Regions from separate parts of the Homo sapiens genome. Here all the other regions are linked to region 3. Evidence: promoter capture Hi-C in 16 types of primary human blood cells and fetal thymus (Javierre and others, 2016). All regions are on one chromosome and are shown on one strand. The core of a region is centred on a gene start or on the middle of the fragment in contact, and the rest is flanking DNA. Distances in the headings are between cores, read along the strand shown.

The links. The method cuts DNA at HindIII sites, captures the fragments that hold promoters and counts their contacts. A CHiCAGO score of 5 or more calls a contact.
Region 1: a contact is called between a fragment that was not itself captured here and the fragment with the promoter of RDH16 in region 3, in 3 of 17 cell types (M1 macrophages, M0 macrophages and M2 macrophages). The highest score is 7.4, in M1 macrophages.
Region 2: a contact is called between a fragment that was not itself captured here and the fragment with the promoter of RDH16 in region 3, in 15 of 17 cell types (erythroblasts, M1 macrophages, activated CD4 T cells and 12 more). The highest score is 16.0, in erythroblasts.
Region 4: a fragment that was not itself captured here is called in contact with the fragment with the promoter of RDH16 in region 3 in 1 of 17 cell types (erythroblasts); the score reaches 5.1 in erythroblasts.
Region 5: a fragment that was not itself captured here is called in contact with the fragment with the promoter of RDH16 in region 3 in 2 of 17 cell types (erythroblasts and endothelial precursors); the score reaches 5.5 in erythroblasts.
Region 6: a contact is called between a fragment that was not itself captured here and the fragment with the promoter of RDH16 in region 3, in 9 of 17 cell types (erythroblasts, M0 macrophages, endothelial precursors and 6 more). The highest score is 12.4, in erythroblasts.
Region 7: a contact is called between a fragment that was not itself captured here and the fragment with the promoter of RDH16 in region 3, in 14 of 17 cell types (erythroblasts, total CD8 T cells, naive CD4 T cells and 11 more). The highest score is 13.1, in erythroblasts.

What each region holds. Positions count from the first base shown.
Region 1 is chr12:56,753,162-56,756,485 of GRCh38, reverse strand. No RefSeq gene overlaps it. Among named protein-coding and RNA genes, the nearest start is that of PRIM1, 2.5 kb to the right of the region's middle. The HindIII fragment of the contact is 1,467 bases long and covers 1,058-2,524 here.
Region 2 is chr12:56,769,396-56,772,899 of GRCh38, reverse strand. The region is part of intron 1 of HSD17B6 (hydroxysteroid 17-beta dehydrogenase 6); the gene reads right to left. Among named protein-coding and RNA genes, the nearest start is that of HSD17B6, 7.8 kb to the right of the region's middle. The HindIII fragment of the contact is 2,222 bases long and covers 740-2,961 here.
Region 3 is chr12:56,956,236-56,959,484 of GRCh38, reverse strand. It overlaps RDH16 (retinol dehydrogenase 16), which reads left to right and starts at 1,877. Exons shown (of 4, transcript NM_003708.5): 1 at 1,877-2,335. The coding sequence starts at 2,023. The HindIII fragment of the contact is 6,494 bases long and covers 1-3,249 here.
Region 4 is chr12:56,790,014-56,793,350 of GRCh38, reverse strand. No RefSeq gene overlaps it. Among named protein-coding and RNA genes, the nearest start is that of HSD17B6, 28 kb to the right of the region's middle. The HindIII fragment of the contact is 7,319 bases long and covers 1-3,337 here.
Region 5 is chr12:56,733,992-56,737,541 of GRCh38, reverse strand. PRIM1 (DNA primase subunit 1) reads left to right here. Exons shown (of 13, transcript NM_000946.3): 12 at 3,297-3,395. Among named protein-coding and RNA genes, the nearest start is that of NACA, 10 kb to the right of the region's middle. The HindIII fragment of the contact is 5,821 bases long and covers 1-3,550 here.
Region 6 is chr12:56,823,033-56,826,241 of GRCh38, reverse strand. No RefSeq gene overlaps it. Among named protein-coding and RNA genes, the nearest start is that of HSD17B6, 61 kb to the right of the region's middle. The HindIII fragment of the contact is 1,687 bases long and covers 817-2,503 here.
Region 7 is chr12:56,806,473-56,809,987 of GRCh38, reverse strand. No RefSeq gene overlaps it. Among named protein-coding and RNA genes, the nearest start is that of HSD17B6, 45 kb to the right of the region's middle. The HindIII fragment of the contact is 223 bases long and covers 1,656-1,878 here.

The DNA.
Region 1 (3,324 bases), core at 542-3,041, 200 kb after region 3:
CAGTTTTTATATTTTATTTTCACATTGGAAATCAGTCAGATTTGTTTCAGCCTCAAAGAGCATGCTTATGTAAAATTAAATGACTGCTGGCAGCGAGCTGCACTTTTTCCTTCCAAACAGGAAAAGCGTTAAAAAAAAAAAAAAAAAAAAAAAGAGGCTAGGCGTGGTGGCTCACGCCTGTAATCCCAGCACTTTGGGAGGCTGAGGCGGGTGGATCACAAGGTCAGGAGATCGAGACCATCCTGGCTAACATGGTGAAACCCCATCTCTACTAAAAAAATACAAAAAAAATTAGCCGGGCGTGGTGGCGGACACCTGTAGTCCCAGCCACTCAGGAGACTGAGGCAGGAGAATAGCGTGAACCCAGGAGACGGAGCTTGCAGTAAGCCAAGATCGCGTCACTGCACTCCAGCCTGGGCGACTGAAAAAGACTCCGTCTCAAAAAAAAGAAAAGAAAAGAAAAAGAAAATAGGGATGATGTTGGCAACTACCGCATAGAGTTCTCATGAGGGATAAATTCATAAAATGGTACCTGACATCATGGCAAAAGCTATATACAGGAATACCTCATTTTATTGTGCTTCACTTTATTATGCTCCAAAGATATTGCATTTTTTACACATTGAAGCTTTGTGGCAACCCTACATACAGTGAGTCTATTAGTGCAATTTTTCCAACAGCATGTGTTTGCTTCATGTCTCTATGTCACATTTTGGTAATCCTTGCAATATTTCAAACTTTTTCATTATTATTGTATCTGTTACGGTGATCCGTGATCAGTGATCTTTGAGGTACTATTGTAATTGTTTGGGGGTGCAACGAACTGTGCCTATATAAGAAGACAAACTTAATCAATAAATGTTGTGTGTGTTCTGACTGTTCTGCCAATATGCTGTTCTCCTCTCTCTCTCCCTCTCCTCAGGCCTCCCTATTCCCTAAGACACAACAATATTGAAACTAAGCCAATTAACAACCCTACAATGACCTCTAAGTATTCAAGTGACAAAAAGAGCCCCACATCTCTCACTTTAAATCAAAACGTAGAAATGATTAAGCTTAGTGAGAAAGGAATGTTGAAAGCTGAGACAGACCAAAACCTAGGCCCCTTGCACCAAGCAATTAGCCAAGTTGTAAATACGAAGGAAAAGTTCTGTTTTTTTGAGACAGGTCTCAGTCTGTTGCCCAGGTTGGAGTGCAGTGCCCTAATCTTGGCTCACTGCACCCTCCGCCTCCTGGGCTCAGGTGATCCTCCCACCCCAGCCTCCCAAGTAGCTGGCACCACAGGCCTGCGCCACCACACCTGGCTAATTTTTGTAGTTTTTGTAGAGATGAGGTCTCGCTATGTTGCCCAGGCTGGTCTCAAACTCCTGGACTCAGGCAATCCTCCCACCTTGGCCTCCCAAAGTGCTGGCATTACAGGCGTGAGCCACTGCACTCGGCCTTAAATTTGAGACAGAGTGTTACTCTGTCACCCAGGCTGGAGTGTAATGGCACGATACTGGCTCACTGCAACCTCTGCCTGTCTGACTCAAGTGATCCTCCCACCTCAGCCTCCTGAGCAGCTGAGGCCACAGATGCATGCCACCACACCCTGTTAATTTTTCTGGGCTTTTTTGTTTGTTTGGTTTGGTTTGGTAGAGACAGGGTTTTGCCATGTTGCCCAAACTGGTCTTGAACTCCCTGACTCAAGCGATCTGCCCACCTTGGCCTCCCAAAGAGCTGGGATTACAGGTGTAAGCTATCAGGCCTGGCCTGGAAAAGTTCCTTCCCGGAAAAGTTCCTGAAGAAAATTACAAGTGCTACTTCAGGGAACACACAAATGATAGGAAGGTGAAACAGCCTTATTGCTGATATGGAGAAACTTTTAGTGTGCTGAATAGAAGATCAAACCAGCCATAACTTCCCTTAAGCCAAAGCCTCACCCATAGCAAGGTTACTCTCTTTAATTATATGAAAGCTGAGACAGGTGAGAAAGCTGCAGAAGTTTGAAGCCAGCAGAAGTTGGTTCATGAGGTTTAAGGAGAGAAGCCATCTCCATAAGATAAAAGTGCTAGACAAGGCTAGAGGTAGTGGCTCACACAAGTAATCCCAGCACTTTAGGAGGCCAAAGCAGGTGGATCACTTGAGGCCAGGAGTTTGAGACCAGCCTGGCCAACATAGTGAAACCCTGTCTCTACTAAAAATACAAAAGTTAGCTGGGTGTGGCAGTGCACACCTGTAATCCTAGCTATTTGGGAGGCTGAGGCATGAGAATTGCTTGAGCCTGGGTGACCAAGGTTGCAGTGAGCCATGATTGTGCCACTGCATTCCAACCTGGGCGACACAGCGAGACTCTGTCTCAAAAAAATAAGTAAAATAAAATAAAACTATGTTTTTCATGTGACATGTTATTCATGTGACTGCCCACTCTAGCCCACAATTGCCATAAGGTATCATTACACAGTAAGAGTGATTGGCAGATCTCCACATCAATAGCAGATGGGTTCCCTTCATACTTGTAAAGCTCTCCATGATTCTGCAAGCTTCCTATAATTCATATTTTCTTATACCTGGGTGTTCTATTTGAGAGACTAAATATATGAACAGCAGCCAGACCATATATAAAAACAGAACTCTGACCCACAATCTACAGCAACCTGCTGGGGAAACCAACCCCCTTATCTATAATAAACAGCACAGGAAGCAAGCTTGCTACAAGTCAGACTTGTATAAAGTCAAACTGCTATCTCTAATGATGATCCTGGAGGCCAAACAACAACCCCTGTAGCAATGGGCCCAAATGCCTTAACTAGTATCCTACAGCTTCCTTAACAGCTTCCAACATAGGTCCAACCAAAGAAAGCCAAACACCCACCCCTAAACCAATCACATACCGCATCCTACTACTAGTTAGCCCAGGTACAGCTTCTCCATGCCAACAGCCTCCAATCAAAGAATACCTTGACGGCTTCCCTTTTTTATAAAGCTTTCCTACTCCTCTGCCTGCCTTTGAGTCCTGTCAAATGCAAGTGATGATGGCTGACTCCCTTGCTATAGTAAGCTCTGAATAAATAGCCTATGCTTTTCTCATTTGGTTATTTATTTCCACATATTGGATCTAGTAATTCATGAAATTCCATGAAGAACTAATTTCCAAAACTTTTTTTTTTTTAGACACGGTCTTTCTCTGTTGCCCAGACTGGAGTGCAGTGGCACTATCATGGCTCACAACAGCCTGGACCTCCCAAGCTCGAGAGATTGATTGCCCCCTCCCCCCACTCCCCGCCCCCAACCCTTCAGCCTCTAGGGTAGCTGGGACTACAGGCGCACGCAACTACATCTGGC
Region 2 (3,504 bases), core at 601-3,100, 190 kb after region 3:
AGTTTGACATGAATGTCCCCAGCACTCTGGCTACTTAGGCTTCTCTCTTGCATCCTACTCTTTAGCCAAAACAAACAACTTTCAGTCCCCTGCAAAGCACAGGCTTTTTACGCCTCTGCATACACTTCTTTCTACTGGAAAGAAGTAGCCCTCATCTACTTGGCAAATAACACTCTTTTTTTTTTCTTTTTTTTTTTTTTTTGAGACAGAGTTTCACTCTTTTTGCCCAGGCTGGAGTGCAATGGCGCAATCTCAGCTCACTGCAACCTCCGCCTCCTGGGTTCAAGTGATTCTCCTTGCCTCAGCCTCCCGAGTAGCTGGGATTACAGGCACGTGCCACCAAGCCGGGCTAATTTTGTATTTTTAGTAGGGAGAGAGTTTTTTACCATGTTGGCCAGGCTAGTCGTGAACTCCTGACCTCAGGTGATCCACCCACCTTGGCCTCCCAAAATGCTGGGATTACAGGCATGAGCCACCACACCCAGCCATAACACTCATCTTTTAAGTCTCAGCCTAATCATCACTTTCATTCAGCAAACATTAATTCAACAACTACTTGAGTCAGACACAGTGTTAGGCACTGATACACAAGAGTGAACAATACATAGTCCATTTTTCATTGAATTCACAGTCTCATTATGAAGACTGACAACAATGCATTATAACAGAAGTAAAAACAGGAGGCTGCTGGAACACTCAGGAGAGGCTTCTAAGGCAGTTTAGAGAGGTCTGAGAAGCTTCCTAGAGAGAATAAAATATAAGTTGAGATCTACAGGTGTACTAGTCCGTTTTCACACAGCTATAAAGATACCACCCGAGACTGGGTAATTTATAAAGAAAAGAGGTTTAATTGATTCACAGTTCCACATGGCTGGGGAGGTCTCAGGAAAATTACAATCATGGTAGAAGGGGAAGCAAACACATGATGGCAGGAAAGCAAAAGCAAGCAAGAGAGGAACTACCAAACGCTTATAAAACCATCAGCTCTCATGAGAACTCAACATGGGGGAAACCACCCCCATGATCCAATCACCTCCCACCAGGTTCCTCCCTAAACACCTAGGAATTACAATTCAAGATATGATTTGGGTAGCGACACAAAGCCAAACCATATCAAAAGGATAATTAAAAAATAATAGCTAGGCCAGGCACACTGGCACATGCCTGTAATCTCAGCATGTTGGGAGGCCAAGGCAGGCAGATCACCTGAGGTCAGGAGTTTGAGATCAGCCTGGTCAACATGGCGAAACCGCATCTCTACAAAAATACAAAAATTAGCCAGGCATGATTGTGGGCGCCTGTAATCCCAGCTACTTGGGAGGCTGAGGCAGGAGAATCGCTTGAACCCGGGAGGTGGAGGTTGCAGTGAGCCGAGATCATGCCATTGCATTCCAGCCTGGGTGACAGAGCGAGATTCTGCCCATCTCAAAAAAAAAAAAAAAAAAAAAAAATTGCAACCCTTGCCGAGCACTTGCTGTGTATCAGGCTCTGTTCTAAGATGTCACATATATTAACTTTTTGAATTCTCACAAGAACCCTACAAGACAGGTCCCATCATTATTCCTCTGTGTCAGTTCAGATACCAAGACAAAATTAGACATGCAAGAGATTATGGGGGAAACACCCTCAGAGGACAAAGGGGGAAGGCACAGGAATAGGTGGTAATGCAGATCTGACACCTCGGGAAGGAGAGGGGAACAGAAGGAGGAGAAGATAGGAAGAGCTTTAGACTGTAGTAGAGCCCCAAGAAAGTCTCAGCCAGGCCCATGAGCCTGAGCAAAGACTGCCACTGGAGAAGTTCCACACTGGGCTGAACTGGTCCAGCTCCAGTACTGCCATCCTTCTGGTCATTGGCTGACCAGTGCCCAAGAGGAGCGTGCCTCAGTGTAAATACCACAGCAGATCGGAGGGTGCCACAACTGGAGGCTGGAAGTCAACCTCACTCCTCATAGCAGATTTTCTTGAGTGATCTGAGCAATGCACCTCAATGGCTGCCACACTGTTTCATAGGTGAGCACTGAGAGATTACATACAGTACTAGACAGAGGGGACAAAAAATGGTCCAGGCAAGAGACTTTCCTGCCCTGATTTAACCTGCCCCATGGTCTAACAGAATTGACTATACCCTCCTTAGTGTCCCCATTGTGGCCTGGGTTTATCATGATGCCTGCTGTACTTCATTGCACTGCTCTTCCCCATTTTTAGACTATAAGGCCCTTGAGAGCCCAGGTTACATATTAGTCTGCACCTGGCCCAGTGAATGGCACATAGCAGATACTTAATAAATGTTAGATAAATTAAGTTATACTAAGTAAAAATATCCTGATAAAAAATTGAGAGAAAAAAAGCAGGGAGAATGAGCCAGAGAAGTAGGAAAAAGCAAGCTGATGAAAGCCAAGGAAAGGGGGGCTTAATGAGGATCAGCAATGCAACCAGGAGGTCTGCTGGGTAATAGGAGGGCACTGGTGCTCTTAACGGGAAGACTCAGACAGTGAAGGGCACAGAAGCCAATCTTCAGTGGGCTGCTGCATGAATTGGAGGGCAGGAAGTGGAGCCGAGTGGAGACTCTTTTTCAAAAGCCTGGTCTGGGAAGGAGAGGAGAGAAGGCAGTAAGTAGCGAGAGGGCAACTTAGGGTGTAGGCAAGTAAAGTGGAAGGAGACAGTGAAAGGGAGAAAACAGTGGAGAGAGGCATATATTGCTCCTCCCTCCCCCACCATCTTCTCTTTCTCTCCTTTTCCCCTCTTCCCTCTGTCTCTCTCCTTCCTTCTCTGAAGCCCTTTGCCTCTCTCCAATCTGAGAGCTCTGTGTTCTCTAGCCAGCTGCCTCTGTTCTGCCTAAGTGGCATTCCCTGGTGCACTACAGTAACACAGAGAGCTTCAACCTGACTGTTTATTGACTAAAAGGTAATTTTCTGTTGCCAGTCAAAGATGAAAACGTATTTCCCCCATTAGAGAGAAGCTTGGCCCTCACAGTTTCCCCGGGCATTACTATTCAGCCATCGCATGCCTAGCAGCAAGAAGACCTGCAGAAGAGATACACCTGGCGGAATCCCAAACCCTAGGCCAAACCTGAATGTGCCTCGAATATTTCAAATGTCCAAATACCCGAAGTGGCGTGGCCTGCTTGCTTTTACAAACCATTCATCTGCAAAAGCTGTGCAATTACTTTACGTTTTTGCCTTTGACTCAAATTATTTATACACAGTACTTAAGCTGCTATTTCTTGATTTACCAATTTTTGACATTCTCAATTAACTTCCTGCTATGGTAAATAAGAATTCAGCTTTCTTACATCATATTGTCAGTCTCTTCCTTTCTCATCTACACTATGCTATCTGGTTAATTTTATTTAATGAGTTTTGAGGTCGAGCCTAGAAAACACCTTCATAATCACACATGCATAGGTTAAGAACTTCCACTGTTTATTTCAGGTCTGATCCCCATCTTGGGCTTCATCATTGCTTGAAGCTACTCTCCCACAAAGATCTTGAAAAGCTAGGCCAG
Region 3 (3,249 bases), core at 628-3,127:
TGTTAGCTTCCTTGTGATGGGTTCCAACATCCTCCTTTAGCTCAGAGAATTTTGTTACTCTGACCTTCTGAAGCCTACTTCTGTCAACTCATCAAAGTCATTCTTCATCCAGCTTTTTTCTGTTGCTGGCAAGGAGCTGTGATCCTTTGGAGGAGAAGAGGCACTCTGGTTTTTTGAATTTTCAGATTTTCTGCTCTGGTATCTCCCCATCTTTGTGGTTTTATCTACCTTTGGTGTTTGATGTTGGCGACCTACAGATGGGGTTTTGGTGTGGATGTCCTTTTTGTTGATTTTGAGCTATTTCTTTCTGTTTGTTAGTTTTCCTTCAAACAGTTTCCTCAGCTGCAGGTCTGTTGGAGTTTGCTGGAGGTCCACTCCAGTCCCTGTTTGCCTGGGTATCACCAGCAGAGGCTGCAGAACAGCAAATATTGCAGAACAGCAAATATTGTTGCCTGATCCTTCCTCTGGAAACTTCGTCCCAGAGGGGCACCCACCTGTATGAGATGTCAGTCGGCCCCTACTGGGAGGTGTCTCCCAGTTAGTCTACACAGGGTTCAGGGACCCATTTGAGAAGGCAGTCTGTCTGTTCTAAGAGCTCAAACACCATGCTGGGAGAACCACTGCTCTCTTCAGTGCTGTCAGACAGGGATGTTTAAGTCTGCAGAGGTTTCTGCTGCCTTTTGTTCAGTTATGCACTGCTCCCAGAGGTGGAGTCTATAGAGGCAGAAAGCCTTGCCTTGCTGCAGTGGGCTTCGCCCAGTTTGAGCTGCCCAGCTGCTTTGCTTTCCTACTCAAGCCTCAGCAATGGTGAGCAACCCTCCTCCTGCCAGGCTGCTGCCTTGCAGGTTGATCTCAGACTACTGCACTAGCAGTGAGCAAAGCTCTGTGGGAATGGGACCCACCAAACCAGGCACAGGATATAATCTCCTGGTGTGCCATTTGCTAAGACCATTGGAAAAGTGCAGTATTTGAGCAGGAGTGTCTTGTTTTTCCAGGTACAGTCTGTCACGGCTTCCCTTGTCTAGGAAAGGGAAATCCCCTGACCTCTTACACTTCCTGGGTAAGGCAATGCCCTGCCTTGCTTCGGCTCACCCTCTGTGGGCTGCACGCACTGTCCAACCAGTCCCAGTGAGATGAACCAGGTACCTCAGCTGGAAATGCAGAAATCACCCATTTTCTGCATCAGTCACACTGGGAGCTGCAGACCGGAGCTGTTCCTATTTGCCCATCCTCTCCCTGCTTTCTTTACCTCTGAGGTTGGATTCTCCCTGTGGGATCCTGCAATCCTTCTGCCCCAAAAAACTATTATAGCAGGAGGGAACCTGTTCCTGCTCACTCTTTGCCTTCTCCTTCTCATCCTAGACAGCCTGACCGTGCCCTAGTTTTCAGAGGAGTGATTGATTCTGGGGTGCGGAGCAGGATGAGGAAACTCAGGCTCAGAGAGGGATTTCCACCTAATGTGCCTGGAAACCATGGGTAGCTACCCAATAAGGCCTTTCTATGTTCAGAAGGTCATGGACCAGGAGTGTTGGTATCGGAGCTTTGTAGAGACAGTTTTGACCCCTGTACTTAGAGCAGAGGGGTGTGTTTGCCATGGAGAGTGTGTGTGGGCAGCTGTGTGTAAGCCTGTGTGAGTTCTGTGTATGTTCCTGTGTGAATATATGTGTGTGCTCCTTCATGGACACAGCATGCATGTAGTGGGCATAGCAAGGCAGAGAGAAATCAGGAGACTAGGGGCACATTGCCCAGTAGGAAGATAGTATCTTCCTACTGGGCAGGACTTGAGGTGTGCAAAGGTGTGCATGAGTACTGCAAAAGCAGTTCAAAGAGCAGAGAGGTGGGGCCAGAATAAATATGTTGCAGAAAGGCAGTCATCAGGGAGGAAAGTGAGGATTCCCTGCCAAAATGCCTGAGGGCTTCCCTGCCTACCACAGCCCTCTGTGTTCTTAAATCCTCCTGTCTGAACAGAGGCCAGACTCTGGTTTCCCCCACAGCCTGTCTGTGTCTGTCCTCTGCAAAGCCATGTGGCTCTACCTGGCGGTTTTCGTGGGCCTGTACTACCTTCTGCACTGGTACCGGGAGAGGCAGGTGCTGAGCCACCTGAGAGATAAGTATGTGTTCATCACGGGCTGTGACTCTGGCTTCGGGAAACTGCTGGCCAGACAGCTGGATGCACGAGGCTTGCGGGTGCTGGCTGCATGTCTGACGGAGAAAGGAGCCGAGCAGCTGAGGGGCCAGACTTCAGACAGGCTGGAGACGGTGACCCTGGATGTTACCAAGACAGAGAGCGTTGCTGCAGCCGCCCAGTGGGTGAAGGAGTGCGTGAGAGACAAAGGTAACCACCCAGGTTTGTCAAGTCTGTCTGTGTCTTCCCTCTGTGTGAAGGGACCACCTCCTGTCTGCTCCCTGGGAAGATTCCTACAGTGTCTTTCCAGGTTGAAGTAACAGTAGCTTTCTAATATTTCTCACTTAACAGGCTGCCTGAACCCCATCTCTTTTCAATCCTTAACCTCTCCCGACATTGGAGGTGTCTAGTCTTGGGGAGAGTTTGCCCTGATGAGATTTTCTCTCCAGAATTCCTCTCTATCCTCTCCCTCCTGTCTAAGCAGAAGTCATGTGTTGTTTGATGCTAAGAGCCTGGGTTAGAGATCTGGAGACTTGCTGGAGCATCGTTGAGAAGGGAGCACAGGGCTGCAAGTGTGCACGGAGGCTGTGCCTGTGCTGGAGCCAGGCTTATGTTCCCAGCACTTTACCTTGTTTTTGCTAGGGCCCATCAGCGTCCACTGAGAGCTACGATCATCTCCATCTTCAGAGGAGAGTATCAGCTTAAGGACTGCTTAAGGAAGGCAGAACTAGTAAGGGGTTACTTTTTCTTTCTTTCTTCTTTTCACTACACTAATTCATCTGTCTTATTATAGAGGAAGAAAGAAACATGGATTTATTTTATGTAACAATAAATCAGAATATGATCTTTGTGGAAAACACTGAAAAGAATAAAGATGAAAACAAGTTTCCCTGAAATTGTCATCCACACATAAGTCCTTTTTACAATTATACAAAATTAGGATTTTATATTTTGTTCTTAGTTTCAGTCACCTTAAATTCTCTGGAGAAGATGAACACTTTTCCACCATAATGACTGTTTTTATAAAATTATATTTAATTATTTAGAATACTGTATCCTTCCAATAGCCTTACCTATGTAATCCATACTGAGTGGTTGGATATGAAATTCCTTCCTGCTTTTTA
Region 4 (3,337 bases), core at 528-3,027, 170 kb after region 3:
ATGGAGGTTGCAGCGAGCCGAGATTGCGCCACTGCACTCCAGCCTGGGTAACAGAGCAAGACTCTGACTCAAAAAATAAATAAATAAAAGTGCCTCCTTTCACTCTCAAAAGTAACCCATATAGAGGTCACCCATATAGGGGAAAGTCTGCTGTGGGGATTTCTGAGAAATCTTTTGTTCTCCTCATAGAAGATGATAGATGCAGACATCACCACCATTCTCCCTTATACCATCATTCTCTTTTGTGTGAAAGTTGCCAGAATCAAAATGGAGTCACTAATGTTTAAAGAAAGAAGAGCCCTGACAAATCAAGCCATAGAAGGCCATGAAGAGAAGGTTCTTTATGCTTGTATGCCTCACAAAAAAGACTCTGGAAAAATCATATCCTTGCACAGAAGCCACCAGAAATTTCCATAAAAAACACTGCAAGAACATCTGCCCCAGAACTGCCTGTCCAACCTGGACTGACATCATCCTTGTTATTGATCTTTGTAGCCAAATATAATTATTTTAAAACAATTGTGCAATTTCCCTCTTTTCTTTAAAAACCTTTGTCTTCCTTTACCTCCCTGAATATGCACGTAGTTTACTATGACGGGTATATTCTCATTGCAATACTCTATTCCCAAATAAATGTCTTTTTCTTTCAGAGAGCCTCCCTTTGTTATTTAGGTTGACTTATATGGTGTCACTTGAAAGTGATGTCTGGATCCGCAGCAACCATCTTACAACCTTGAAGTGACAAGCTGGAAGAAAAGGCCAGAAGATGCACATAGAGTTTAATCCTGACAGAGATGAGTTACTGAAGCAATGCCAGTGACCTCCTATCCGCTAATTTACTATTACCTAACAAACTTTTTTCTTTTTTTTTTTTTGAGACAGGGTCTTGCTCTGTCACCCAGGCTGGAGTGCAGTGTTGTGATCTCAGCTCACTGCAAACTCCATCTCCCAGGTTCAAGCGATTCTCATGCATCAGCCTCCTGATTAGCTGGGATTACAGGTGTGTACCACCACCCCTGGCTAATTTTTTTGTTTTGTTGTTGTTGTTGTTGAGACGAAGTCTCACTCTGTCACCCAGGCTGGAGTGCTGTGGCACGATCTCAGCTCACTGCAACCTCTGCCTCCCAGGTTCAAGTGATTCTCCTGCCTCAGCCTCCCAAGCAGCTAGATTACAGGCACCTGCCACCATGCCTGGTTAATTTTTGTAGTTTTAGTGGAGACGGGGTTTCACCTTGTTGGCCATACTGTTCTCGAACTCCTGACCTAGTGATCCGCCCACCTCGGCCTCCCAAAGTGCTGGGATTACAGGAGTGAGCCACCGCACCTGGCCAATTTTCGTATTTTTAGTAGAGACAGGGTTTGCCATGTTGGCCAAGCTGGTCTCAAACTCCTGACCACAGGTAATCCACCCCCACCTCAGCATCCCAAAGTGGTAGATTACAGGCGTGAGCCACCGTGCCTGGCCTAAGAAAACAAACTCTTACTTAAGTCATGCTATTTGAAGCCCGTTCTCCCACTTATGCACCAAACTGAATCCTCTCTCAACCTCCTTGCCATCATTTTAGCAATTCTCCAATCTCTCTCCTACATCATGACTTGTACTAAGTACCCAGTACAATAACTGAATAGAAGAGCTACCCCTATGTCCATCATTGTGAAGTTTTGGAACACCTGCAATAAAAGATAAAGATTCCAAATAAAATAAACATTTATGTACTTATCTTCTAAATAGAGCCTAAAACCTTCCATAGAATAGGGACAAAAAGGAACAAAGGAACAAGAATCAGAATGGCATTAAGGTTCTTAATGGATACGATAAGAAAGTGAAGCAATGTCTTTAAAATCCTGAAAGAAAATTATTTTCAACCCTAGAAGTCCATGCTCAGCTAATCTATTATAAGAACAGAGACCTTTTCTCTTTTTTTTTTTTTTTTGAGACGGAGTCTCACCCTCTCACTCAGCCTGGAGTGCAGTGGTGCGATCTCGGCTCACTGCAACCTCCACCTCCCGGGCTCAAGCGATTCTCCTGCCTCAGCCTCCAGAGTAGCTGGATTTCAGGTGCCCACCACTACACCCAGCTAATTTTTGTATTTTTAGTAAGATGAGGTTTCACCATGTTGGTCAGGCTGGTCTCGAACTCCTAACTGCAGGTGATCCACCCAGCTTGGCCTCCCAAAGTGCTGGGATTACAGGCGTGAGCCACCATGACTGGCCAACAGAGCACGCCTGGCCAACAGAGATCTTTTTTTTTTTTTTTTTGAGACAGAGTCTCACTCTGTCGCCCAGGCTGGAGTGCCGCGGCGCGATCTTGGCTCACTGCAATCTCCACCTCCCGGGTTCACGCCATTCTCCTGCCTCAGCCTCCCAAGCAGCTGGGACTACAGGCGCCTGCCACCACACCCGGCTAACTTTTTGTATTTTTAGTAGAGACGGGGGTTTCACTGTGTTAGCCAGGATGGTCTCGATCTCCTGACCTCGTGATCCGCCCTCCTCAGCCTCCCAAAGTGCTGGGATTACAGCTGTGAGCCACCGCGCCCGGCCAACAGAGACCTTTTTAAACATGCAAAGACTTAGCTAGTAAGAATGAGTTCTGTTAAAATAAAGGAGAAAACCAAGAGGCCATATGCTCCAGGAAGCAGGATTTCAGACAGCAGGAAAGAGATGTAGGGAAGTCCTAGAAAAATAATTGAGTAGCAGAACCAGAGAACAGCCAGCCCACACAGAAACAGGAGGAGAAAGCAGTGAGACCTCTCCCTCTCCCTCTCCCTCTCCCTCTCCCTTCCCACAGTCTCCCTCTCCCTCTCTTTCCATGGTCTCCCTCTGATGCCAAGCTGAAGCTGGACTGTACTGCTGCCATCTTGGCTCACTGCAACCTCCCTGCCTGATTCTCCTGCCTCAGCCTGCCAAGTGCCTGCGATTGCAGGCGGGCGCCGCCACGCCTGATTGCTTTTCATATTTTTTTGGTGGAGATGGGGTTTCGCTGTGTTGGCCGGGCTGGTCTCCAGGTCCTAACCGCGAGTGATCCGCCAGCCTCGGCCTCCCAAGGTGCCGGGATTGCAGACGGAGTCTCGTTCACTCAGTGCTCAATGATGCCCAGGCTGGAGTGCAGTGGCGTGATCTCGGCTCGCTGCAACCTCCACCTCCCAGCCGCCTGCCTTGGCCTCCCAAAGTGCCGAGATTGCAGCCTCTGCCTGGCCGCCACCCCGTCTGGGAAGTGAGGAGCGTCTCTGCCTGGCCGCCCATCGTCTGGGATGTGAGGAGCCCCTCTGCCTGGCTGCCCAGTCTGGAAAGTGAGGTGCGCCTCTTCCCGGCCGCCATCCCATCTAGGAAGTGAGGA
Region 5 (3,550 bases), core at 791-3,290, 220 kb after region 3:
CCCTGTCTATCCTAAAAATACAGAATTAGCCGGCTGTGGTGGCACATGCCTGTAATCCCAGCTGCTCGGAAGGCAGAGGCAGGAGAATCGCTTGAACTCAGGAGGTGGAGGTTGCGGTGAGCCAAGATCACGCCATTGCACTCCAGCCTGGGCAACAAGAGCAAAACTCCGTCTCAAAAAAAAAAAAAAAGATGCCGCATAGCAGCGCAGCACTCCCCAACCTTTTTGGCATCAGGTACCAGTTTTGTGGAAGACAATTTTTGCACGGACTGCAAAGAGAGGGGGAGGAGTTGGGGATGGTTCCAGGATGAAACTTTTTTACCTCAGATCATCAGGCATTAGATTCTGATAAGGAGTGCGCAACCTAGATCCCTCACATGCGCAGTTCACAATAGGGTTCATGCTCCTTTGAGAATTTAGTGCTTCTGCTGATCTAACATAAGGCAGAGCTCAGGCGGTAATGCTCGCTTACTGCTCACCTCACACCTGTAATCCCAGCACTTTGGGAGGCCGAGGCAAGAGGAGCCTAGGAGTTTGAGACCACCCTGGGCAACACAGAGAGACCCTGTCTCTCCAAAAAAAAAAATTTAGCTAGACATGCTGGCAGGCACCTGTGGTCTCAGCTACTCAAGAGGCTGTTTGAGCCCAGGAGGTTAAGGCTGCAGTAAGCCTTGACCACACCACTGTACTCCAGCCTGGGTGTCAGAGAGAGACCTTGTCTCAAAATGAAAATTATGTGGCCGGGCGCAGTAGCTCACGCCTGTAATCCCAGCACTCTGGGAGGTCAAGGTGGGTGGATCACCTGAGGTCAGGAGTTTGGGACCAGCCTGGCCAACACGGTTAAACCCCGTCTCTACTAAAAATACAAAAATTAGCCAGGCATGGTGGTGCACACCTGTAGTCCCAGCTATTCAGGAGGCTGAGGCACAAGAATCACTTGAGCCCGGGAGGCAGAGGTTGCAGGGAGCTGAAGTTGCGCCACTGCACTCCAGCCTGGGAAACAGAGTGAGACTTCGTCTCAAAAAAAAAAAAAGTATAATTTCTTTCTTACTCTTTTTAAAGAACTATTATGAGGATTCTTAATTCCATGCAAACGTAGGATACTACTAAAATCCAAATTTTATGTGAAACTCCTTTCTTATTCTCAATCATATTTTCCCATTGGGTATCATTATAGGTTATATAATTAAATGGATGAATAAAATTGTATATTCTTTTTTTTTTTTTTTTTTTTTTTTTTTTTAGAGAAAGAGTCTTACTCTGTCACCCAGGCTGGTGTGCAATGGTGCAATCTCAGCTCATTGCAACCTCCGCCTCCTGGGTTCAAGCAATTCTCCTGCCTCAGCCTCCTGAGTAGCTGGAGTTACAGGTGCCCGCCACGACGTCCAGCTAATTTTTGTATTTTTACTAGAGACAGGGTTTCTCCATGTTGGTCAGGCTGGTCTCGAACTCACGACCTCACGTAATCCACCTGCCTCGGCCTCCCAAAGTGCTGGGATTATAGGCATGAGCCACCGCACCCTGCCTATATTAAATTTTTTGTTGTATACATTTTTTAAACTATTTTATAAATCAAAGAATACTTAATGCAGGCCAGGCGTAGTGGCTGATGCCTGTAGGCCCAGCACTTTGGGAGCCTGAGGCGGGTGGATCACCTGAGGTCAGGAGTTCAAGACCAGCCTGGCCAACATGGCGAAACCCCATCTTTACTAAAAATACAAAAATTATCTGGGCGTCGTGGCGGGCGCCTATAATCCTAGCTACTCGGGAGGCTGAGGCAGAAGAATCGCTTGAACCCAGGAGGTGGAGGTTGCAATAAGCCGAGATTGCCCCACTGCACTCCAGCCTGGGAGACAGAGCAAGACTCCATCTCAAAAAAAAAAAAACAAGAATACTCAATGTAAAAACTTCTAATAATCTCCAAAAGGGCGTGACCAGAGCCTGAGCAACACAAGACCTTGTCTCTACTAAAAATAAAAAATTAGCCAGCTGTGGTGGCACTCCCTGTGATCCCAGCTACTTGGGAGGCTGAGGTGGGAGGATCATTTAAGCCAGGGAAGTCAAAGCTGCAGTGAGCTGCAATTGCACCACTGCATTCTAGCCTGGGCAAAAAAGCAAGACAGTGTCTCAAAAATAAGACATGGGGCCGGGCACGGTGGCTCACGCCTGTAATCCCAGCACTTTGGGAGACTGAGGCAGGTGGATCACGAGGTCAAGAGATCAAAACCATCTTGGACAGCATGGTGAAACCCCGTCTCTACTAAAAATACAAAAACTTAGCCGGGCATGGTGGCACACACCTATAGTCCCAGCTACTCAGGAGGCTGAGGCAGGAGAATCGCTTGAACTCGGGAGGCGGAGGTTCCCGAGCCAAGATTGCACCACTGCATACCAGCCTGGCAACAGAGCAAGACTCAAAAATAAAGGCATGGACCGGGCGCGGTGGCTCACGCCTGTAATCCCAGCACTTTGGGAGGCCAAAGTGGGTGAATCATGAGGTCAGGAGTTTGAGACCAGCCTGGCCAACATGGTGAAACCCTATCTCTACTAAAAATACAAAAAATTAGCTCATTGTGGTGGCGGGCACCTATAATCCCAGCTAGTCGGGAGGCTGAGGTAGGAGAATTGCTTGAACCTGGGAGGCGGAAGTTGCAGTAAGCCGAGATCGCACCATTGCACTCCAGCCTGGGCAACAGAGTGACACTCTGTCTCAAAAAAAAAAAAAAAGAAAATATATGTATATATATTATATATATATATATAAATATAAAAGACTTGTATGAAAGAGAGTATCATATATCTCAATTTTTATTACATGCAAAAATAATATTTTAGCTGGGCATGGTGGCATGTGTCTGTAATCCCAGCACTTTCAGAGGCCGAGGCTGGGAGATCACTCGAGCTCAGGAGTTCAAGACTAGCCTGAGCAACAGAGTGAGACCTCGTCTCTACAAATACCAAAAAAAAAAAAAAAATTGGTTGGGCATGGTGGTACATGCCTGTAGTTATAGCTACTCAGGAAGCAGAGATGGGAAGATCCCTTGAGCCCAGTAGATCGAGGCTGCAGTGAGCCAAGACGGAACCACTGTACTTCAGTCTGCATGACAGAGTGAAATCCTGTCTCAGTAATAATTTCACCTTTTTTAATGTGACTAATATAGTATTTAAAAGTATGTATGTTTCTCTCATATTTCAATTGGGCAGCCCTAGAGAATTCTTATAAGAAACTTAGTTGTGTTTTCATGTTATTCTTGCTGCCAGTATGCTAATTATAATGTACATTCTTCATAATTTAGATTATAAGAAGACCAGTCTAGCACCTTATGTGAAAGTTTTTGAACATTTTCTTGAAAATCTGGATAAATCCCGAAAAGGAGAACTTCTTAAGAAGAGTGGTAAGACGCTATGCCTTTCCCTTCTATCTAGTTAGATCTTATTATTAGTAGAAATGAGCAATTTTTGAGTTCTAGTCTTTCTTTGCCCTCCTCCCAAAATTTACAGATTTATCTTACTATCCTTAATGTTTTGGAAATTGAGGTTCCTTAATTCA
Region 6 (3,209 bases), core at 411-2,910, 130 kb after region 3:
ATATTAATACCACCAAAAGTGATCTACGGAGTCAATGCAATCCCTATCAAAATCCCAACAATATTTTTACATAAATTTTAAAAATCCATTCTAAAATTCATTTGGAATATCAAATGACCCCAAATAACCAAAACAATGTTGAAAAGAACAACAAAGATGGCAATCTCTCACTTCCTGATTTCAAAACTTACTACAAAGCTATGATAATCAAACCAGTGTGTTACTGACATAAAGACAGATACCTAGACCAACGGAATAGAATAGATAACACAGAAATAAACCCTTGCATATATGGTCAAATGATTTTTAACGAGGGTGCCAAGACCATTCAATGGGGAAAGGACAATCTTTTCAACAAATGGTAACGGGAAAACTGAATATTCACCTGCAAAAGAATGAAGTTAGACCTGTACCTTACACTATATGCAAAAATTAACTCAAAATAGATCAAAGACCTAAATTTAAGAACTAAAACTATAAAACTCCTAGAAGAAAATACAGGGAGATGGCCGAGTGTGGTGGCTCACACATGTAGTCCCAACACTTTGGGAGGCCACAGCAGGTGGATCACTTGAGCCCAGGAATTGGAGACCTGCCTGGGCAACATGGCAAGACCCCATCTCTACAAAAAATACAAAAATTAGCCAGGCATGGTGGCATGCACCTGTAGTTCCAGCTACTAGGGAGGCTGAGGAGGGAGGATTGTTTGAGCCCAGGAGGCAGAGGTTGCAGTGAGCTCTGATCATGCCACTGCACTCCAACCTGGGCAACAGAGCAAGACCCTGTCTCAAAAAACAAAAAAACAGGGAGAAAGCTTCATGACGTTGGATTTGGCAGTGATTTCTTGGATATGACACTGAAAGCACAGGCAACAAGAGGAAAAAAAATGGACACATTGGACTACATCAAAATTAGAAACTTCTGTCCACTCCTGAATTTTTGTTAATATATTTTGCTGCCGAAACAAAGAGTTTGCAGGTTTGGTATACCCTCTGATAGTGGGGGCATATTGACAGCTGCTATGTCCATCACAAACACATGCCTTCCTCTGCAAAAGAGTAACTGTGCAGCCAATTATCCTCAAATGACATGAACTTCTTCCTCGACATTTCTCCCTTAAATTTCCAGGGAAGATTTTGATTTATTTACTTAACAAAACAACCCTCGCAAATTTACCAGGTGGTTGAAAAATAATTATAATAGTAATAATAGGCCAAGTGCAGTGGCTCACACCTGTACTCCCAACACTTTGAGAGGCCAAGGCAGGAGGATCCCTAGAGCCCTGAAGTTTGAGACCAGCCTGGGCAACAGAGGGAGACACCATCTCTATAAAAAAAATTTTAAATTAGTCAGATGTGGTAGTACACCTGTAGTCCCATCTGCTCAGGAGGCTGAGGTGAGCAGATCACTTAAGCCCAGGAGTTTGAGGCTGCAGTGAGCTGTGATCGCCACTGCTGCACTGAAGCCTGGATGACTCTGCCTCTAAAAAAAAAAAAATTAATAGTAATAAGAAAATAATATTATAATGGACACTATCACAAAAGGCAAATACCTTAAACTATTCCTGCAGTGTTGTTTTGTCCAGGCCGAAACCAAAACTGGAGCCCCAAAGTCTGTAGCAGGGAAATTCCCAAGAAGGATTATCTGTAAACCATTTGGAGATGGGGCTGGTTGAGATTCCAAAGAGAGAAGCACTAAACACCAGGGTAATTAGTCTAAAGTATTTATCAGGGGAACTTACTTACAAAAGGGGCTGCAGGAATCCTCTCAACAGCAAGCGAAAGAGATGTTCCACCTAGCTATGTCTGCAATAAGGGGGTTGTGTTATGGAGTTTATATGAGGGTTTGAGGAGTTTGGTTAAGGGCTGGGGCTAGTTTCTTTCAGTGTTCTGGACAACAACCTAAACATGTTTACCAGAGCCTGGGAATGTTCAAGGACCTGACTTAACCCTGCAAAAAAACATGCAACTGGCCAGGTCACAGAGTGGTCAAGGCACTCTGTATTTCTTAGTCGGGATAGATAAAAAGGTTGGGAAAACTAGAGGACCCTATGAATGTATTAGCCAAATAGTATTTGATCAAAAGCATAAATGAAAATTGATGATCCCAAGCATTCATGTGGGAAATCAACTTTTTTTCCTAGAGCTTATCCAATAGTCTAGACAAAATTCTATTTCTGTAAAAAGTAATCAACTTATAAGATGTAGCTAAAAGAGTAATGATCAATATTGTTTCAGATTGCCTAGCACATTTTCTCATGTTCCAAATACAGATCTCTGTGTCCTCCCAGTTCACTCTCATCCAACCCAGCCCCCCCCCATGTCATTTAAACAAGGAAAAGATATGACTTTGCTTTTATTATCTAGGTTAGACAAAATGTTCCCTGAGTTTCCATCAAGTTTTAATTTTGCCAAAGAAATATAATCACAGTTTTCTTAAAAGCCTGTCCCAAGTAGTCATGCCTCTATCTCTGAATTTATTGGCTATCCGGTTATCTTAAGCTTTAACCAGCACAAGTTTCTTTGACGAATTCTTACTTGCATTTAGAAAGGTCATGTTCTTCAGTTTCTGGAGATTGCCTTGAGCTGAGAACAGGCTCCATCAAAGGTCATGGATGGCAGAATGGGCTGGCCATGAAAGACCTCTGAACTCCAGTGGAAAAGCAGATGGAACTTGGAAAGTAAACTAAGGCTACCTCAAAACAACGGCCTTTGTCTTAGGGCAGGCAAGTCAATAGATTATATGAAAATTGTTCTGGGCCGGGCACGGTGGCTCAGGCCTGTAATCCCAGCACTTTGGGAGGCTGAGGCAGGTGGATCACCTGAGATCAGGAGTTCGAGACCAGCCTGGCCAACATGGTGAAACCCCATCTCTACTAATAATACAAAAACTAGCTGGGCGTGGTGGCACACGCCTGTAATCCCAGATACTCGGGAGGCTGAGGCAAGAGGATTGCTTGAACCTGGGAGGTGGAGGTTGCAGTGAGCCGAGATAGCGCCATTGCACTCCAGCCTGGGTGACAGAACAAGACTCCGTCAAAAAAAAAAAAAAAGAAAGAAAAGAAAGAAAAAGGAAGGAAGGAAAAAGAAAGAAAAGAAAAGAAAAGTGAAGGGGTGACTTTCCCCTCCACAACTGTGGGTATTTCTAGTTGGGTGGGACGAGAGACTGAGAAAAGAAATAAGACACAGAGACAAAGTATAGAGAAACAA
Region 7 (3,515 bases), core at 518-3,017, 150 kb after region 3:
CTGAGCAGATGTCGGGACAACCAGCTGCAGAGAGGAGCAACCCACTCTAGGGCCTCTTCTCTGCTGAGAGCTGCAGAGTTGATGGAGAGATGACAGGGAGATGACAGGATGACCTGCCTGCAGAGGGGAGCCACCCACTCTAGGGTATCCTCTCTCCTGAGAGCTGTATAGACGACGAGACAACCACCTGCAGAGAGGCGCTACCCTCTCTGCTAGGATCTGAACACCCATCAGGACAACCTGGCTGCAGAAAGGAGCTGCCCCCTGTGGGTTTCCTCTGAGATGTTATATTGCTCAATAAAGCTCCTCTTTGTCTTGTTCACCCTCCACTTATCTACGTACCTCATTCTTCCTGGTCTCAGTACAAGAACTTGGGACCCACTGAATGGTGAGGCTAAAAGAGCTGTAACACAAACAGGGCTGAGACATGCTTCCCCCTTGCTCTCCATGTTGCAGGCAAAGAGAAGGAAAGAAGAGCTGCAGCCCTTTGGGGATCCCAGACCTGGGAGCTCCCCAAGACTGGCCCGTGATTCCTTCTTTGGGGCCCTGCAGTTCCTGGCATCTCCAAGCTTCCAGCCACCACCATATTCCCTGGCGCCAGCCATGGAAGCTGCTTGCGGTGCACCTGGTCCAGCCTTAGCCTAGCAGAGAGCCAGTGCCCATGCCAGCACCTGAAGCTGCCTGGCCCACTGAAGCAGCTGGCATGTCTGACTGTGCACACTGGTCAGACCCCATGCTTGCTCATACACCCTACGCCATTCCGCACCTGACTCACCCTTAGCAGGCATGGGAACCAGGCCAGTAACGTAAGCTGAAAACAGCCTGCTGGGCCAAGTGGACAAAATGAGCCCAGCAGGCCCAAGCAAAACTCAGGCAAAGGCACCGCCAGCCACAGAGGTTTCCAGTGAGAAAAACAACACCCCAAAGATCCTGTAATATTTTGGGGGCTCATCCAGGATCTGTGGAAGGGTAAGTAAAAGCAGATCTGCTCTTTCTGTCCTTTTTTGGAGTCCCTAAATTCCACAATAGCTAAAATGAAAGAAAAATGCCAGCCTCTGTCAGCCAGTTAAAAGCAACTAGTGTGGCTGCTGGACTTAAGACACAGAGGACAGGCTCGCTGGGGAGGACACTGTCAATCCCCCATCACCCTCAGGTTTTGGGAATGTTGGCTTTATTCCAACCCGGTTTCCTTTCATGGAGGTCTAGCCACTGGGTGGAAGACAAAGGAGGTTGTGGGGCAACTCAGAGTATCTGGCTGAGGCTTCGCCTCGTTATCCAAAGGCCCCTGGACTAACTCCAGTCCCCGACTGCCCATTAGGGTGTTGCCACTAGAACCTCCCATCTTTCCTATCTTTCTTTCTTTCCCACTCTTTCTTTCTTTCACGGCTGTCAAAGTTCCTATCTCTACTTTATATACAACGTCGAATGTTAAGGATGTTGTTGCAAACCAGAAATATTACTGGGTAGAATAAGCATTTGGCTTAGTCTTCAAAAGTATAAAATGGAAGGTTAAGAGTAGCACAGATGAAGCAAAGTGGGCCTTGGTATCTGTACATAAATTTGTGGTGAAAATGTTCTTGTCATTTCCTTGGTTGCCAATTTAGTGCCAAGAACCTTGAGGCACAGAAAAGAAGCATGGCCCCAGGAAGGAAGCTTTTCTGTAAATGCAAGGGCAAATGGTCCAAGGTCCCATACATGCAGGCCTTTTTTGCCTTGCAGGGTAATCCAAACCTTTGCTGATGTGGTAGGATTGAATCAGCTCACCTCATGGCCATCTCAGGAGAGCCTGCAAAGGGCAATCCCAGGGAAATAGGGAAGCAAACCCCAGAGGTACCTCCAGTGGGGGAATCAACCCCCTCCACTGTTTTCTCTCAAGCTTGGCCCAGCCTAGAAATCCTCATTTTAGGCAGGTCCCAGTCACAACTGCCCCTACAACAGATGCCTGGTGAATATGGCCCCATTAAGGTCCAGGTTCCCTTTTCTCTACAGGACTTAAGGCAAATTAAGGGGGATCTTGGCAAGTTTTTAGACAGCTCTAACAGGTATATAGGGGCTTTCCAGAACTTAACCAAAGTATTTGAGCTCTCCTGGAAGGATGTCATGTTACTTGTTTTTTTTTGAGACAGAGTCTCACTCTGTCACCCAGGCTGGAGTGCAATAGCGTGATCTCAGCTCACTGCAACCTCTGCCTCCCAGATTCAGGCAATGCCTCAGCCTCCTGAGTAGCTGGTATTACAGGTGTCCACCACCATAACCGGCTAATTTTTGTATTTTTAGTAGAGACAGGTTTCACCATGTTGGCCAGGCTGGTCTCAACCTCCTGACCTCAGATGATCTGCCTGCCTTGGCCTCCAAAAGTGCTGGGATTACAAGTGTGAGCCACTGCACCAAGCCTCATGTTACTTTTGAATCAAACCCTGACCACCGCTGAAAAGCAGGCCACCCTGCAAGTGGCAGAGAATTTGGGGAATGAGCCATATATATATATATATATATATATATATATATATATATTTTTTTTTTTTTTTTTTTTTTTTTTTTTTTTAAAGACGGAGTCTCACTCTGTCACCCAGGCTGGAGTGCAGTGGTGCAATCTCAGCTCACTGCAAGCTCCACCTCCCAGGTTCACACCATTCTCCTGCCTCAGCCTCCTGAGTATCTGGGACTACAGGTGCCCACCACCATGCCCGGCTAATTTTTTGTATTTTTAGTAGAGACAGGGTTTCACCATGTTAGCCAGGATGGTCTCGATCTCCTGACCTCATGATCCACCTGCCTCAGCTTCCCAAAGTGCTGGGATTACAGGCGTGAGTCACTGTGCCTGGCCAATGAGCTTTATATCTTATATAGGACCAGGAAAGGGTATGAGACTTATCTGATTGGAAAAATAGCAGTACCATTGGAGGTTGAAAATTGGACCCCAATGATGAAATAGGAGAATAGAAGAGGAAACACTTTCAGGTGTGTATACCGGAGGGCTTATGAAGGACAAGGACTAAGGCCCTGAATTACACCAACCTATTCATGGTAGAATAGGGATTTGATGAGAATCCCACTGGCTTCCTGGAAAGGCTAAGAGGGAGGGGCCTTGGTAAAACACACCTCTCTATCTCCTGATTCAGTAGCAGAATAGCTGGTCCTAGGCACTGACTTTATCACACAGGTGGCCCCTGATGTCAGGAGGGGGCAGCAGAAACGGGCTGTGGGACCAGATGGTACTTTGGAGGGCTTCCTGGTAGGAGCCACGTTGGTCTTTTGCAGTGGGAACTGGGAGGAAGTCCAGAAAAGAGGGGAGATACAGGAAAAAGGCAGAGGCTCTAATAGCTGCTCTGTGGGCTCATGGACCCCAGAGTCCCTGATATGCACCTGTTGACTACTGCAAATGTGGCAGGCCAGGTCATTTTAGGAGGGACTGTCTGGACAGTGTGGGGAGGCCACCTCGACCCTGTCCAGTTTGTGATGAGGACAATTAGAGGGCGGACTATCCCTGGAGACACGGGTCACCCGGTCCAGGG